Linked DNA regions of Homo sapiens: regions 1, 2, 3 and 5 are each linked to region 4. The links are contacts of gene promoters, found by promoter capture Hi-C in blood cells and fetal thymus (Javierre and others, 2016). All regions are on one chromosome and are shown on one strand. Each heading gives the region's core, a stretch centred on a gene start or on the middle of the fragment in contact. The rest is flanking DNA. Distances are from core to core; before and after follow the strand shown. Region 1 overlaps MTRR (5-methyltetrahydrofolate-homocysteine methyltransferase reductase). Region 2 has its middle 67 kb from the start of MTRR. Region 3 overlaps MTRR (5-methyltetrahydrofolate-homocysteine methyltransferase reductase). Region 4 holds the start of ATPSCKMT (ATP synthase c subunit lysine N-methyltransferase). Region 5 has its middle 47 kb from the start of MTRR.

Region 1 (2,700 bases), core at 92-2,591, 2.4 Mb after region 4:
GAAAAAAAATGCAAAAAGCTTAAAGGACAAATCACCAATTAAGAACTAAGTAAAACTAAAATAGAACTAAGCCAGGGGACATCCTCAGGAGCTTAGAAAGACACAGTCATCTCATGCAGCCCATGACAGTGAAGGCAGAGAAAGCCAAGGACTAACTGGGAAAAAAAATCTTGAATACTCAGATTCCCTTAAAAATCTTGACTACCCAGAACGCCTTAAAAATCTTGACTACCCAGATTCCCTTAAAAATCTTCCTACCCAGATTCCCTTGAACTCTTTGAGCCTGCAGATGTGGCCAGTCCCTCCCATGAAGAGTAAGAACTCCCTTCTCGCATCTGGATGGTGTAAGGACCTCTGCCCACAGCACATGCCTGTACCCCCACTACCACACCCCATCCCCTCTTCTGGTTGCTAGACCAATAACTGGGGTTGTTGCGACACACTCGGCCACTAAAGCACTGGGCTAGCTAAGGAAGGTAAGGGACTAACCCCTAAGAAAGTATACGACAGAGCACTATGCCCCCACAGGAGCTAGGAGAGAATGCACACAACACAGCTGAGGTCCTAAATTGAGGAGGGCAGAACACAGATGTAAAAAATGGGCAGCCCACAAAGGCACTGGATCAATCCTTACAATGAAAAGAAATCAAGGAGGCATGTAAAAGGAGCTGTAGGCCGCTGCTCCAATAAAAACGATCCTTTGCCCTGTTTCCAGACCTGCAACCCACTGACTGTAGGAGAGAAGAGGTCCCTAGGAGGAGGGACTGTGAGACACTATAGAAACTGTACTTGACAATGGCTTCTGCAGTCCTTCTCCCAAAGGGGAAATGTACACTGGGCTAAGGGGAATGTGCAAACATTCCAGGGTCTGTTAAGAGGGGGTTCAAATGAATGTTGTTACCCAGGGACCCAAAGCATCAGCATAGCTCATCTATGACAGCAAGGCACATGGGGGCCAGGCGGTAAATGGCGTCCTGGCCCAGGACCTCCAGTGGCCACTCAGCAGCTGGCACAGGGCAACACCGAATTATTGGCCTATGACGTTAAGATCTATCATCATGGGGAGGGCCAAGAAGAAGTCTCTGAATTTGACGCCATCCTCCTCCCTAAACACCAAGATAGAACAAGAGAAACAAAATAGCATCCTGAGAGAAATGACATCCTTAAAAAGCTGGAGGACACAGGGGATGGTCTCTATCGTATCTCCATTTAATTCACCAGTTTGACCACTGCAAAAACCACATAAATCCTGGGGGATGACACTGAACTACTGGAAACTCAAACAAGAAACAGGTCCACTGTAACCTCCGTGCAAGCTGGTTTTCCTTAACAAAGTAGACTAGCATGGCCTCAGGTACACGGACAATGATTTAGTCAAAGTGCTCCTTCCCAACCCTATCACTAAAGAGGATCAGAAACAGTTCACTTTGCGCTGGAACAATGTATAAATTTACAATTATGCCCCAGGGCTATCATAAGTCCTGCCTGCTGTTATAAGAGTCTGAATAAATGTGGAACACCTGCAAAGCACCACACTAGCCTACTCTATCAGGGGCATCGTGCTATCAGACTGAATGAGCAACGAGGAGTAGCCAGGACAGTGCGGTCTTTGGTAAGACCCATGCCCTATGCAATTAAAGGGCCTGCAGTGCCAGCACAATTTTTAGGGTTCTAACAGTTTGGTGCACGTCAGGACATCCCCTCCCAAGTGAAGGCCACACTAGTGCACCTTGTACCTCACTTCTAGAGAGAAGCAGAACCACTGCTAAGTCTCTTCAGGATCTGTGGGTAGCACATTCCATACCTGGGAGGACTGCTGAGACCCAAATACCAGGTGACAGAAAAGGCCACCAGCTTTGCGTGGGGCCCAGAGCAGGAGAGGGCTCTACAGCAGATCCAAGTGACAGTGCTCGTTAACAGGTCCTGCCGCTCTACCACACAACCCAGAAGACCCTCTGGTTATTAGAGGTAATACTTCCACATGGCAGAAAGGTACCATATGGAGAGGAGCTGACTGAGGCCTTTGTTGAGACTGCATCGCAGCTCAGCTTCTCACTGTGCCCAATCCTGCTTCCAACCCCTCTGTGCCTCAAGGCAATGGTCCCAAGAGGATGCCCTACAAAACATTCTTTTTTTCCCAATTCTTTACTCTCTCAGTATATTATTTCATATTTATATTGTCTCTCTTAAGTACTTCAGATTTGTTAAATCTTTTAACTACATTATTAACAACTCAAGCCTATTTAATGACACTTTCTATTAAGAAAAAACCCAGAAACTTTTTTTTTTTTTTTTTTTTTTTGAGACGGAGTCTTACTCTGTCGCTCAGGCTGGAGTGCAGTGGCGCAATCTTGGCTCACTGCAACCTCCGCCTCCCGGAAAAAACCCATAAACTCTTAACAGATCTTCCGGCTAATTTAAAACTCCTAGTCAGATTAATGATTAATCTCTATCCCCGCTGCCATGAACTGATCCTGTCTGTGGTGCAACACTGCACTCTGCTCCCACCAGTCCAGGCATAAGTTGTGTCTGTTCCCAAACCAGACTGAGATACACTTACTGCAATTATCTCACTTAAACAATTCACAAAATAATGAAGTACAAGTGCAAAAACAATAGCCCATAGTTGTTTATACACAAAATCATACTTACATGAAAGCTTTAGAAAGACATTATAAAAGATGCTAAAAAAAATTGCTA
Region 2 (2,700 bases), core at 60-2,559, 2.3 Mb after region 4:
TCCATCTCCCGGGTTCACGGCATTCTCCCGCCTCAGCCTCCCGAGTAGCTGGGACTACAGGCGCCCACCACCACGCCCGGAAAATGTTTTTGTATTTTTAGTAGAGACAGGGTTTCACCATGTTAGCCAGGATGGTCTCGATCTCCTGACCTTGTGGTCTGCCCACCTTGGCTTCCCAAAGTGATGGGATGGAAGTAGGCATACCTTACATGGTCAGAGCAGGAGTAAGAGAGAGAGCAGGGAGCCACACACTTTTAAATAACCAGAGCTCCTGAGAGCCCCATCATGAGAACAGCACCAAGGGATTCATGAAGGACCCTCCCCCGCAACAATGATCCAGTCATCTCCCACCAGGCCCCAGGTCCAACCTTGGGGATTACAATTTGACACGAGATTTGGTGGGGACACAGAGCCAAACCATATCAATTTGACACCAACTCCTTATAAATAGAAAACCTGGCCAGCTTACCCTGTCACGCATTTCCTATTGCCATGGACATCACACATTTATCAAGGGTTGAATTTGGCTTTAGAGAACATCCGATGACAAAATGAAACAATTGTAAAGAGTTACATCACAAAATAGGGAACAGAGATTTAACACAGGAAGAGGCATTTAGAATGTCATGATATCTTCAGAAGTCACACGAAGTGGTATAACACAAGGGTGTTGTCACACATCTCAAAGAATTCTACATTAGACTGAATATACACATATTTTTGCAGGTGATATAGAGTTTCAGTGTTGAATCTAGATGCTCAGATTGAAGCTTAGTGTACTACCTTTAACAGTGCCTAAGTTCAAGTTTTATGTCGGTCAACAGTCACCGTACTGGGAGAAAGCAAAACTAAGGGTGAGCTCTTCTGTAAACTTGTGAAGCAGTTTGAAATTGACTTTAAAAAGTAAAAATCAGGCAATGTTCTAGGTGACTCTCATTTAGCCCTGCACCATATCTGTGCCAGCTGTCACCACCTGTGCCTGCTTTCTTCTGTACCTATGGACTTGTCTGAAGAGAAACAGTAACACATTCCAATTTCCATAGGCGTCATGCTGACATTCCTAGTGTAAAACACTGCAGTGGTTTTGGAAGTTGTTTGTTTATTCATTTGTTTGTTTTGGGAAGGTGTAAAATTAGAGTGACATCATATTCTGGGATGCTGAATACTGGATTAACCTGCTGTAACTAAATTCTAAGTACCCCCTGCAGCTCTTCTGGCACTACGGTGGAGAGTGCTGATGCGTTCATTGTTCATTTTCTATTCTGAATTCAAAGAGAATTATAAAATCAATTTTCTTTAAAGTACATCCAGTCAATCCTCTGCTTCTAATTGAAACCAGTAACATCCAGGTGAAATGATAAACCATCACCTTAAACAGGCACTAGCAAATTCTTGTAGGAAGTTGAGCTGTCTACACTTACAGAGATGAAAGCCAGCAATGTGATCTTCTTAGCAACAGGTTAGAAGGAAAGTCTGGATTTTCCAGAATCCAGATCTCCCTTCTATCTTGTGACTCTTTATCTAACACTGAGACATTTTACGTGTTTCACGTTACATAGCATTAAATTGCCAAACAGTTGAGAAGGAAAGGGAGCACATTTGAACTGCTGACCTCTGATTACTAATTAAATAAGAGGTGGAATACAATTTCTTGTCTGACCTACATTTTAGTTTAATAAATATCATAGAGTGGTTTTTTGCCACTAGCATTGCGAAAAGAATTTGTACTACTTTTCTCTTTTTTCGTGAAAGTGTTCTTGACTAGCTAGCTTTATCTTGTCAACATAGTACAATAAGTTTATCTGAGCTAGATCTGATATCAACTCTTATCATGAGTAATAAGCTTGATTTTTTAGTGGATGAGCTAATATGATCTTTAGAACAGACTATATGAAATGACATTTACTAGTAACTGTGCAGTTGATATCAGTCTCTAAATTAAGTTTCTATTAATCTCTAAGCCACTTTTCTACATGAACCATATTTTCAGGAGAGAGCAGGTTTTTATTCCTGATGTTTTTATATCAAATTTCTGAAAATAAACTATAGTAAAATTGAATAAAACATTGTTCCATCTGCTCAGAGAAATGTATAATTCATTTTAATATTAAGCTCATTTTAAAAAGTGTATAAAATATTGCTATTTTAGAAATCACTGCCAATACTTCGACATTGCAGAGAGGCAATCAGGCTGGGAGAATGCATCACCTTCATTGTTTTTCAGTATCCAAAAAGAAGAGAGTTAGGATTAGAACAAAAATTTACAGTTTCAAAGCAGATAATTTGAATGCTTTAGTTCAGTATTTATTGAGTTACAAAAATTTCTTAAATCAACTATAAATCTATTACTATTCATGGCCTGGATGGAGAAGCACAGCAGAAATAAATTCTAAAATAGTGCCCTGTCTGCAAATATTGTATCCAACATGACAATGCATTGTCCAATATTTAACATTACGGTCTGTGCATTTCTCAGGTCAAAGTGAATATTACCCTATTTCTCCCATTTCACACCCACTGATCAGAGAAGCAGGGGACTCAGAATGTTTTTCTGGTGTCTGACATAGATAATCTGCTGATTGGTAATCAAATATTGACTATGTTGTGTCCAGAGAAATCACCAAGTACACCATCAACAAATAGATGTACTGGACAGAACCAATGCAATCATTTTAAAAAGAATGACAAAGTTTTTGCACA
Region 3 (2,700 bases), core at 7-2,506, 2.4 Mb after region 4:
TTTCTATTAAAATATGTACGTACTGGTACCTGTAAATTGAATGCAAATGTCCCAAAATTCTGAAATTGTGACTTAAAAAAAAGTAATGGTGATAGATAAATCATATGCCAGAGTGAAATTTTAAAATACATTTCATATTTCCAGCATCATAAAAATAAATCCCTCTGTAGGCAATTATCCTAAAATATTTTTTATCAGAAATATAGCTTTAGTAACAAATAACCATTTGATAGTTACATAAACATATAACAGATATGCTCTACATGTGTAATTTAAGTACATTAATATGAGCATTCTTTATGGGTATACATCATATAAAAATAAATCATTTTCATACTTTTTTAAATGTTGGCACTGTAAGTCACAAGAATGAGCTACTCAGTCAGTCTCCCTATTTCAGGAAGCCTTTGCATGGAAGGACAGAGTCTCTGTGAAGTTCTCTGGGAAGTAAAGGAGGCGCTGATAGGGACTGAAGGCTGCCTTAGCTCAGAAGAGCTCAAGGCAACAGGGCAATTTGGGGAGAGTCACAGGCACAGGAAGGGCGTAGATAGAAGATACGTAAAATCAAATCAGGAAGTTTTGTTATATTGTTAAATGATCCAATCTCCACTCCATGTCCTTCAAGAAATGTTGAAAGAAAATTTTCTTTTGAAAATTTAAAGGTTTGGCACTAGTAAAGCTGACTTTTAGTACTTTCAGTCAAAAAAGCTTAATCCTCTTTCTTTAATTTCTGGTTTTATGACCAAATATCCTGAAGGTAGCGTTTTTCTTCTTTTAAAGTGGCCAGGGTTTTCATTGCTTCTAGTTTTTCAACTCCAACCTCTTTGCTTATTATTTGCACAAGGGCATCATGTACATCCTTGGCCATATTCTTTGCATCTCTAGAAAAGAAAATAATAAGATGACTGCTTACAAACAGGCATTTTTAGTAAATCCTCCTTAATTCACAAGTCTAATTCCTTTTGACTGTACCACCATAGTTCTTCCCTCCGTCTTCTCAGAACATCTCACACAGATCTCCCAGCCTCACTCATGCCCAGGCCAGGCCTTTGCCTACAGTGACTGTTCTAGGAGACAGAGCTGACCACACGGTTCTACAGCTCCCAATCCTCCACAGGCTCCAGGTCCCGACAGTAGGCCAAGGATTTCCTAGGTGTCAGAGAAGCATCTGAGGTCCTGCCTGGCTCCGACCCACCTGCTGGCTCACCCCTCATTCCCTGCCCTCCACTCTCAAAGCACACAGTAGACTCGTGCTCCTGAAGGGAACCAGATCTCTCGCACACTTCTAGGTCTTTATACACATACAGTTAGTAACAGACACCTTTATTGAGGACTTACTATGTGCCAGGTCCTTTTGAAGTGCTTCTACATCTTAACTCTTCAATTTACAAGAAGGGGGCGGTACCCCTCCTGGGTGCTCTTGCAGTCCTCTCTGGAACACTTCCGACGTTAGAAACGTCTGTTTATATGTAGCTTTCTCACCAGGGAGTAAGTTGTTTGAGGGTAGGAAGTGTAACTCACTTATCCTCTGATCCAGTTTGGATGTGTGCCCTCTCCAAATCTTTATGTTAAAATGTGGTTCCCAGTGTTAGAAGTGGGGCTTGGTGGGAGGCGTCTGGGTCATGGGGGCAGATGCCTCATGAATGGCTTGATGTTATGCTCGCTGTAATGAGTGAGTTCTCCCTCTGAGTTCCTGAGAGATCTGGCTATTTGAGTGTGTGGCACCTCCCCCTGCCTCTTGCTCCCTCTCTTGCCGTGTGAGGTGCCTGCTCCCCCTTTGCCTTCTGTCAGAGTGGAAGCTTCCTGGGGTCTTCACCAGAAGCAGGTGCCGGCACCATGTTTCCTCTACAGCCTAAACCGTGAGCCCATTAAATCTCTTTTCTTTAGTCTCAGGTATTCCTCAACAGAAAAACTAATATATCCTCGTATCTATCGACATCTGAATATGCCCCAAGCACTTAGCCAGCACTCAGGTGTTTGCTGAATGAAGCGAAGTGTCAGACAAGACTCTACTATGTTAGGAACTGAACATGTCCTGGCCCCTCACAGTGAAATTTCTTGAGAGGTGTCTGTCTCACCTGTCTCAAGAGGCTCTCCTCTCCACTATTCTCAGGGAACTTATACCCCAAGATCCTGCTCCGCTGTCTTCTCATTTGACTCATCAGCAGTACAGGCTCCCTCTCTGAAACAGCACCCTCTTGGCTTTGGGACAATTTTGCTTCTTCAGTGGCTGTTCCTTCTGTCTACTTTGTTCCTGCTTCCCTGACGGACGATCAATGTTCAAGTGCCCCAGGGTTTCCTTCTGAGCCCTCTGACCACTGCTATTAATGCTTCCAAGTGCATTTCACAAATGTGACAAAGTAAAGCACCAGTGATTGGGAGGAGCTATTTCTGGAATAATGTTTTAGGAGTCTGGACATTTAAGATATTCTCCAAGTTCTCAATGACCAGATATCTGTGATCTGTACAATGAACTCTGCCTCTACTATTTAGAGGTGCATCTCTAAAACTCCAGCCTGTATTTGACCACCGATGACACTGTCCTCGCCAAACAAAATGCAGATTAAATACTTCATTAAAAGCGAAGGAAAATGTAAACCAAAACAATGTCTAGAATTTCTGCCCTTTATTGACCTAAAGCAATGTTTTTCAATTAGGAGTCAAAATCTATTGAAAGGACATGAAATTAACTTAGTAGCC
Region 4 (2,700 bases), core at 135-2,634:
CTCCCCTTCTTCCCCAAAGATAACGTCGTATTTTCCATGTTGGGCATTCAATAGCTTCCACCTTCGGGAACTATTGTAAGTTAAAGAAGTCAGTGCTCCATTAAAACCGGATGGCTCTTCCATTCTACAACGTGCCATGCGCATTCTTGCCCAAGCCTTTACTTCTACCGTTTCCTCTCCCTAGAATGCTACCTCTCACCCCGATCTAAAGCTGTCCTCCAGCACCACGCTTATGTGCACCCTCTCCGTAGCTGTCCTTCTCACTGCACACCACCTTGTATTACGGTTATGTGCGTCCGTTTTTCACTCTTCGCTATTTTTCCTCAAGGGTGGGCAAAAAAGCACTCAGAAATGAAATACCCTGTTAAGTGACCACACCTTTACGAGTGACAAAGAAAACGGAAGGGCCGTTGCGGGTGGACCAGCGAAAGGTTAAGCAGCAGCGCCTTAACCGACAGGTGACAGAGCATCTCCCCGGCGCCCTCCCACTGGAGCGCAGTCCCACGCGGCCGTCAGGCTGGAGGAGCCGGGCGGGGAGGCGGTCCCGCTTTGCTCCCGCGGGCGACCGGACTGAGCGGCCCCACCCAGCTCCGAAGGGCGCTGGCGGCCCAGCCTGGCTGGCCCCCACATTCCGAGCCCAGGATTAGGCGCCGGCGTCTCCCGAGCTCAGTAAGCGGGCTGAGCGGCCGGAGACCGCAGGGAGACGGAGATTCTCGACCTTTCCGGGGAGCACATGGCAGAGCCGCTCCTCAACTCGCGCAGGCGCAGAGCCACGGCCTCGGCCACCTCCCCTTAGCCCACCGCGAGCAGGTCCCTGTGCCATTACCTTGAGGGCCTCAAGTCCCATAAGACGGGACTTGCGGTCCTGATCCTTGATGATGAGGAAAGGGCGCCCATATTCATCGAAGGCGAGGGTCCCCATGGACGCCATGGTGCAACAACCGGAATTACTTCCCCCCAACCGGCGGAGACCGCTACGGAAGCGAGAATGCACTTCCCTTTCTCGGGAGGGCCCAAAAGCTTGCGCACGCGCAGCACAAGACGCGCGGGACTTATGTTTCTACTGAGACTAATTTCACGCCAGACAGTATCTTCTGGAATCGGCGGCCTTCGGGAACTTCTATTATCCAGGAAGCCGGGGAGGGGGAGGTTTGAAGACACTTAGTGGAAATCTTAGGACACACAAGTCAAGAGCAGATTGAATTTGTCATTTTTTAAAACGTTACCACTGATAGTTTCTCGATAGTGGGTCCCAAGGAGGAATTCATTGACTTAAAGCACTATTTCTTTATTTCTTCGCACTCCGGCTCCGAGAAGATGGTAGGACCCATTTCCGGTTTTTTTTTTTTTTTTTTTTTTTTTTTTTTTTTTTTTAAAAACGCTGTTGGAAATCTCGCGATGGAGGGAGGAGGAGGTGAGGCTGGAGCGGCTTGGCGGGTTCCTGGGGGCATGAGAAGGGGTGCGGGCGGGCCGGGGGCTCGCGGTCAGCTGAGGTCTCCACTGTCGAGGCGGTGACCGGGTGCGGGCGGCTGCTCTGGCCTCCAGCCTGGCCTTCGGTGACCAGAGCTCCTGGTCGCCGCGCGGTGCCCGCGCCGGTTCTGGCGATCCTTGTCGGCGGGCGCGTTTCCCCAGAGACTGTTCTAGGCTACTTAGTGCAAGTGACTCAGCCTTTGGCACGATCTTAAGGAATAGGGATAGTGGAGGCACACTGATGGATTGGAATCGCAGTTCTGCCGCTCTTCCTAGCTGTGGCTTTGAGGAAATCCCTTAACTTCTTTGTCCCTCGGGTTCCCTGTCTGCAAAGTGACGGTGGTAACAGTAGTGCCTACTCACAGGGCTGCTGTGAGATTCAAGGAGAACGGTGCCTGGCAAGCTGAACACAGTGTTGGTAAATAAATTAACATTTTGCACAAATGGTTCAGTAACTTGCCACTGGTATACAGCTAGTAAGAAACAGTTACACAGCCTGATGCAATGGGTCCCACACTCTTTTTTTTTTTTTTTTTTTTTGAGACAAGACTGTAGCCCGGGCTGGAGTGCAGTGGCGCGGTCTCGGCTCACTGCAGCCTCCGCCTCCCGGGTTCCAGTGATTCTCGTGCCTCAGCCTCCCAGGCAGCTGGGACTACAGGCACAGAACCACCACGCTCGCTAATTTTTGTATTTTTAGTAGAGACGGTGTTAACGCCGTAGTGGCCAGGCTGGTCTCGAACGGCTGACCTCAAGTGATGTACCCGTCTAGGTCTCCCCAAGTGTTGGGCCTGAGCCACCGCGGTGCCCGGCAGGTCTCACTCTTAAGCCCTGTATTATGCTGCCTCAGAAAGATCTTGGCAACCGCAGCTGTCCTCTAAATCTCTTATGCTGCCTTCCTCCCCGCCCTCCAAGATCATGACTTAATATTTGATAGGTTTAGATTTATTTGTTGAGGGTTTCCATCCTTGCTTCTCCCCTACTGCCATGGGCAGGGACTTAACTAATAAAGTTGTATTATTCCCAGACTTTATTAGGCACTCAATAAGTGCTGAAATGAATACATGCACTATAACATTTGACCCTGTCCTGAAACTCAAGAACAGACTTGGCGACTGTGTTCCCATCTACTCTGGGGCTGAGGCAGGAGGATGGGTGGAGCCCAGGAGTTCAGTTTACAGTGCGCTATAATCGCGCCACTGCACTCCATCCTGGGCGACAGAGCGAGATTCT
Region 5 (2,700 bases), core at 58-2,557, 2.3 Mb after region 4:
GGAAAGTGAGGAATCGATCAAATATTTAACAAAAGTTATAATACTAGTAATAAGAAGGCAGCCATTTGCCTAGAACTTTATAATTTTTGAAAACACTCTCCCATATCTTTTTTGTCTCAATAGAACATTTGCTGGTAGTTTTTCTTTTTTCTCAATCTACACTGAGTTAACACTTGTATAACCCGCATACTAAGAAACAGAAGACTATAGATGGAAAGCTCCAGTTCATACAGCTTGGCTGCCTGGATGTACAGAGGAAGATCAAGGTCTTGTCAAGATGATGTCACTTGTTGAGATGGTGTGTGAATGAATGGCTTGTCAAGATGGTGTAAGAACCAGCCTTGGAACCAACTTTGTGATTCGAGTTTCCTTGGTTTAAAAAAAAAAAAATCCAATGACATTTCTATGGAAATAAGCCTAAGTGGGCACGTTCCCACTCATTCTAGGATCATGCACAATAATGATGTCACACCAGGAAGCTGAGGCTTGTAAGCTTCCCTGTAGTATTTCAAACAGTATTTATTCCCATTCATTTTCCAATACCTACACCAGTTTGTAAGTGATCTAGCCTAATGGTTGCCCTCGTCCAAACTGCCCTTCGAGTTTTATAATGAATTCTCCCAAGAAAAGCAGCTTTGCGGTGATGTGGAGAGACAAGCTGTTTGAAATGTGAGCAGGATGAGGGAGCCCTAGAGGTTTATGTGGGCATTTGTAATAGAATCCAGTTCCTAAATCATTCTTACATGTGTGGTTCAAAGTAAACATTACACAATACCGCTATCATTTCCAATTTAACTGCCCTGAGGGCTAAATTCTGAAAGCCAAGGAAATAGATACTTTTATTATTAAGGTAAATTGAAGAAGACCTTCATATACCTCTTCAATTTTATGTTTGCTCCCTTTGCAGAACTGCCTGCTTTGGGAACCTTTTCACTTATTTCTTCCTTCATCTCCTAGACTCATTTCCATTTGTCTGGAGGCTGGCCTTTTATTCCACTGAGATCCCAGACACTTGCAGGATAATTACAACCAGCAAAAAGAACCTCATCTTCATGGACAGGGCTTTGTTTGCTGACACCTCCCTGAAGGCTCCTTCCCTCTCCTATTCTAACCCCTGCCTCTGCCTTGACCCTGCCACAGCTTGGGATGGGGCCTTGTCACCTTCATCCCTTCTACCTGGGCTTCCCACAGTCATAGGGTCTTTAACCCAAAGCCTCACGATCATATGCGTACTGTTCTGTGACTATTGATAACTGCATTTGACGTCTGTCAGAGGGAAAGCTCTGTGAGGAGAGGTACTACACTCACCACAGTGACCTCAGCTCCCAGCATAGGCCTGGCACACACTAGAAATACCTATGGATGATTGTGGAATGATGAGGAAACAAGAGTTGGCTAATTGATCTTCCTTGCTGCCAGAGCACACCATTAGTTCATTCCATTTCTCCAGCAAGCATTTTTGGGTAACCCACAGTGCACCACTCACAGGGATTATGAAGATGCAGTGCTATAGTCCAGGCCAAAAAAGAACTTAGAGCTCAGTGAGGTGGCCTCCTGTGAACAGTGTCAACCCAGTATGGTCACTGGCTAGTGGTCTGGTGACAACAACAGGCAGTGGTTAAATCAGCCAGGAACCAAATGAGCCAGAATCATGGCAGCTACACCAAGCAACCTCTCCTGGGCTGAGTTTTGAGGGATGGGAAAATTGGCCAAGTAGACAAGCAGAAATGGGGAATAGGAGTCATTCCAAACATTGGTTACAGTATTTAAAAGGAATAGAAGCCTGAAAGTGTGGCATATTTTTCAGGAGAAACAAGCAGCTTTACGTTGCTGAAGTCTCAATAAATTGAGACTAGGAGTGGTGATAAGAGTGCCTGAAGAGACAGACAAGGACAGAAATTCTCAATATGTTTACAGTGTGACTTATCTTAACTATTATCTAATAATTTATCAATTAATGTAATTGTCTCCCACCCTAGACTGTGCATTCTTTGTGGAGCACCTAGCAAGGAACAGGTTTGTAACAGGGGCTCACTGAGCATTTGTTGGATGGAGGGATGGACGGATGGATGGATGGATACATATGTATATAACACTAAAAACACACAGGTCCAAGCTTTTTAGCTGAAGCTCCCAATAATGTTTCTGTTTGTACAGCTACATGGCTCCTCCTAAGGTGCCTCTGCCTGATTTTCTCCACCCTCAGGAGACTCTTCCCCTGCCCACCCAGCTTTCCCACCCAAGCTGATGCCAAGAGGCTGGAAAAGGTCACCAAGCTGCTCTTTCCCAGCCCCAGTAGAAGGATTCTTTCAAGTGGGGCTGAAAGGCAGCCCATGAGTGGCTTCACTGGATTCAGGTCCACGATTGTAAACTGGAATAAGGGCAGGTGCCATGGGAATGTGAGGGTGCCTCCACCCAACTTTGCCCCCTGGCATTACAGATTTGATTCCTCATTGCCATCAATAGAATGTGCAGATTCCTCCAGATGCTTGGGCGCTGTCCTGGTGCAGGAGTGCGAAGGGTCCCTGTCCATCTCAGAGACACTCCATTAACCTGATCCGTTGGTTGCCTTTATTTTGGTTGATTTGGCAGTCAAACCAGAACATTTTCGATGCAGCCTCAATATCTTGGCCCCATAGCTGTTCCTTCCCAACTTCTCTTGCTAAACAGAAGCTGCTCAAATAAAGACTGATAAACGCC

The links. The method cuts DNA at HindIII sites, captures the fragments that hold promoters and counts their contacts. A CHiCAGO score of 5 or more calls a contact.
Region 1: a contact is called between a fragment that was not itself captured here and the fragment with the promoter of ATPSCKMT in region 4, in 11 of 17 cell types (naive CD8 T cells, activated CD4 T cells, megakaryocytes and 8 more). The highest score is 15.2, in naive CD8 T cells.
Region 2: a contact is called between a fragment that was not itself captured here and the fragment with the promoter of ATPSCKMT in region 4, in 1 of 17 cell types (endothelial precursors). The highest score is 8.0, in endothelial precursors.
Region 3: a contact is called between a fragment that was not itself captured here and the fragment with the promoter of ATPSCKMT in region 4, in 2 of 17 cell types (endothelial precursors and activated CD4 T cells). The highest score is 14.0, in endothelial precursors.
Region 5: a contact is called between a fragment that was not itself captured here and the fragment with the promoter of ATPSCKMT in region 4, in 1 of 17 cell types (endothelial precursors). The highest score is 8.0, in endothelial precursors.

Annotation. Positions count from the first base shown.
Region 1 is chr5:7,879,065-7,881,764 of GRCh38, reverse strand. All of the region lies in intron 5 of MTRR (5-methyltetrahydrofolate-homocysteine methyltransferase reductase), which reads right to left. Among named protein-coding and RNA genes, the nearest start is that of MTRR, 11 kb to the right of the region's middle. The HindIII fragment of the contact is 2,641 bases long and covers 21-2,661 here.
Region 2 is chr5:7,934,890-7,937,589 of GRCh38, reverse strand. No RefSeq gene overlaps it. Among named protein-coding and RNA genes, the nearest start is that of MTRR, 67 kb to the right of the region's middle. The HindIII fragment of the contact is 1,073 bases long and covers 773-1,845 here.
Region 3 is chr5:7,898,095-7,900,794 of GRCh38, reverse strand. MTRR (5-methyltetrahydrofolate-homocysteine methyltransferase reductase) reads right to left here. Exons shown (of 15, transcript NM_002454.3): 15 at 1-881. The coding sequence ends at 737. Among named protein-coding and RNA genes, the nearest start is that of MTRR, 30 kb to the right of the region's middle. The HindIII fragment of the contact is 1,091 bases long and covers 711-1,801 here.
Region 4 is chr5:10,248,572-10,251,271 of GRCh38, reverse strand. It overlaps ATPSCKMT (ATP synthase c subunit lysine N-methyltransferase), which reads left to right and starts at 1,384. Exons shown (of 5, transcript NM_199133.4): 1 at 1,384-1,414. The coding sequence starts at 1,399. It overlaps CCT5 (chaperonin containing TCP1 subunit 5), which reads right to left and starts at 992. Exons shown (of 11, transcript NM_012073.5): 1 at 827-992. The coding sequence starts at 931. RefSeq lists silencers at 1-64, 395-534, 605-674, 1,425-1,484, 1,495-1,614. The HindIII fragment of the contact is 6,282 bases long and covers 1,023-2,700 here.
Region 5 is chr5:7,914,375-7,917,074 of GRCh38, reverse strand. No RefSeq gene overlaps it. Among named protein-coding and RNA genes, the nearest start is that of MTRR, 47 kb to the right of the region's middle. The HindIII fragment of the contact is 1,623 bases long and covers 496-2,118 here.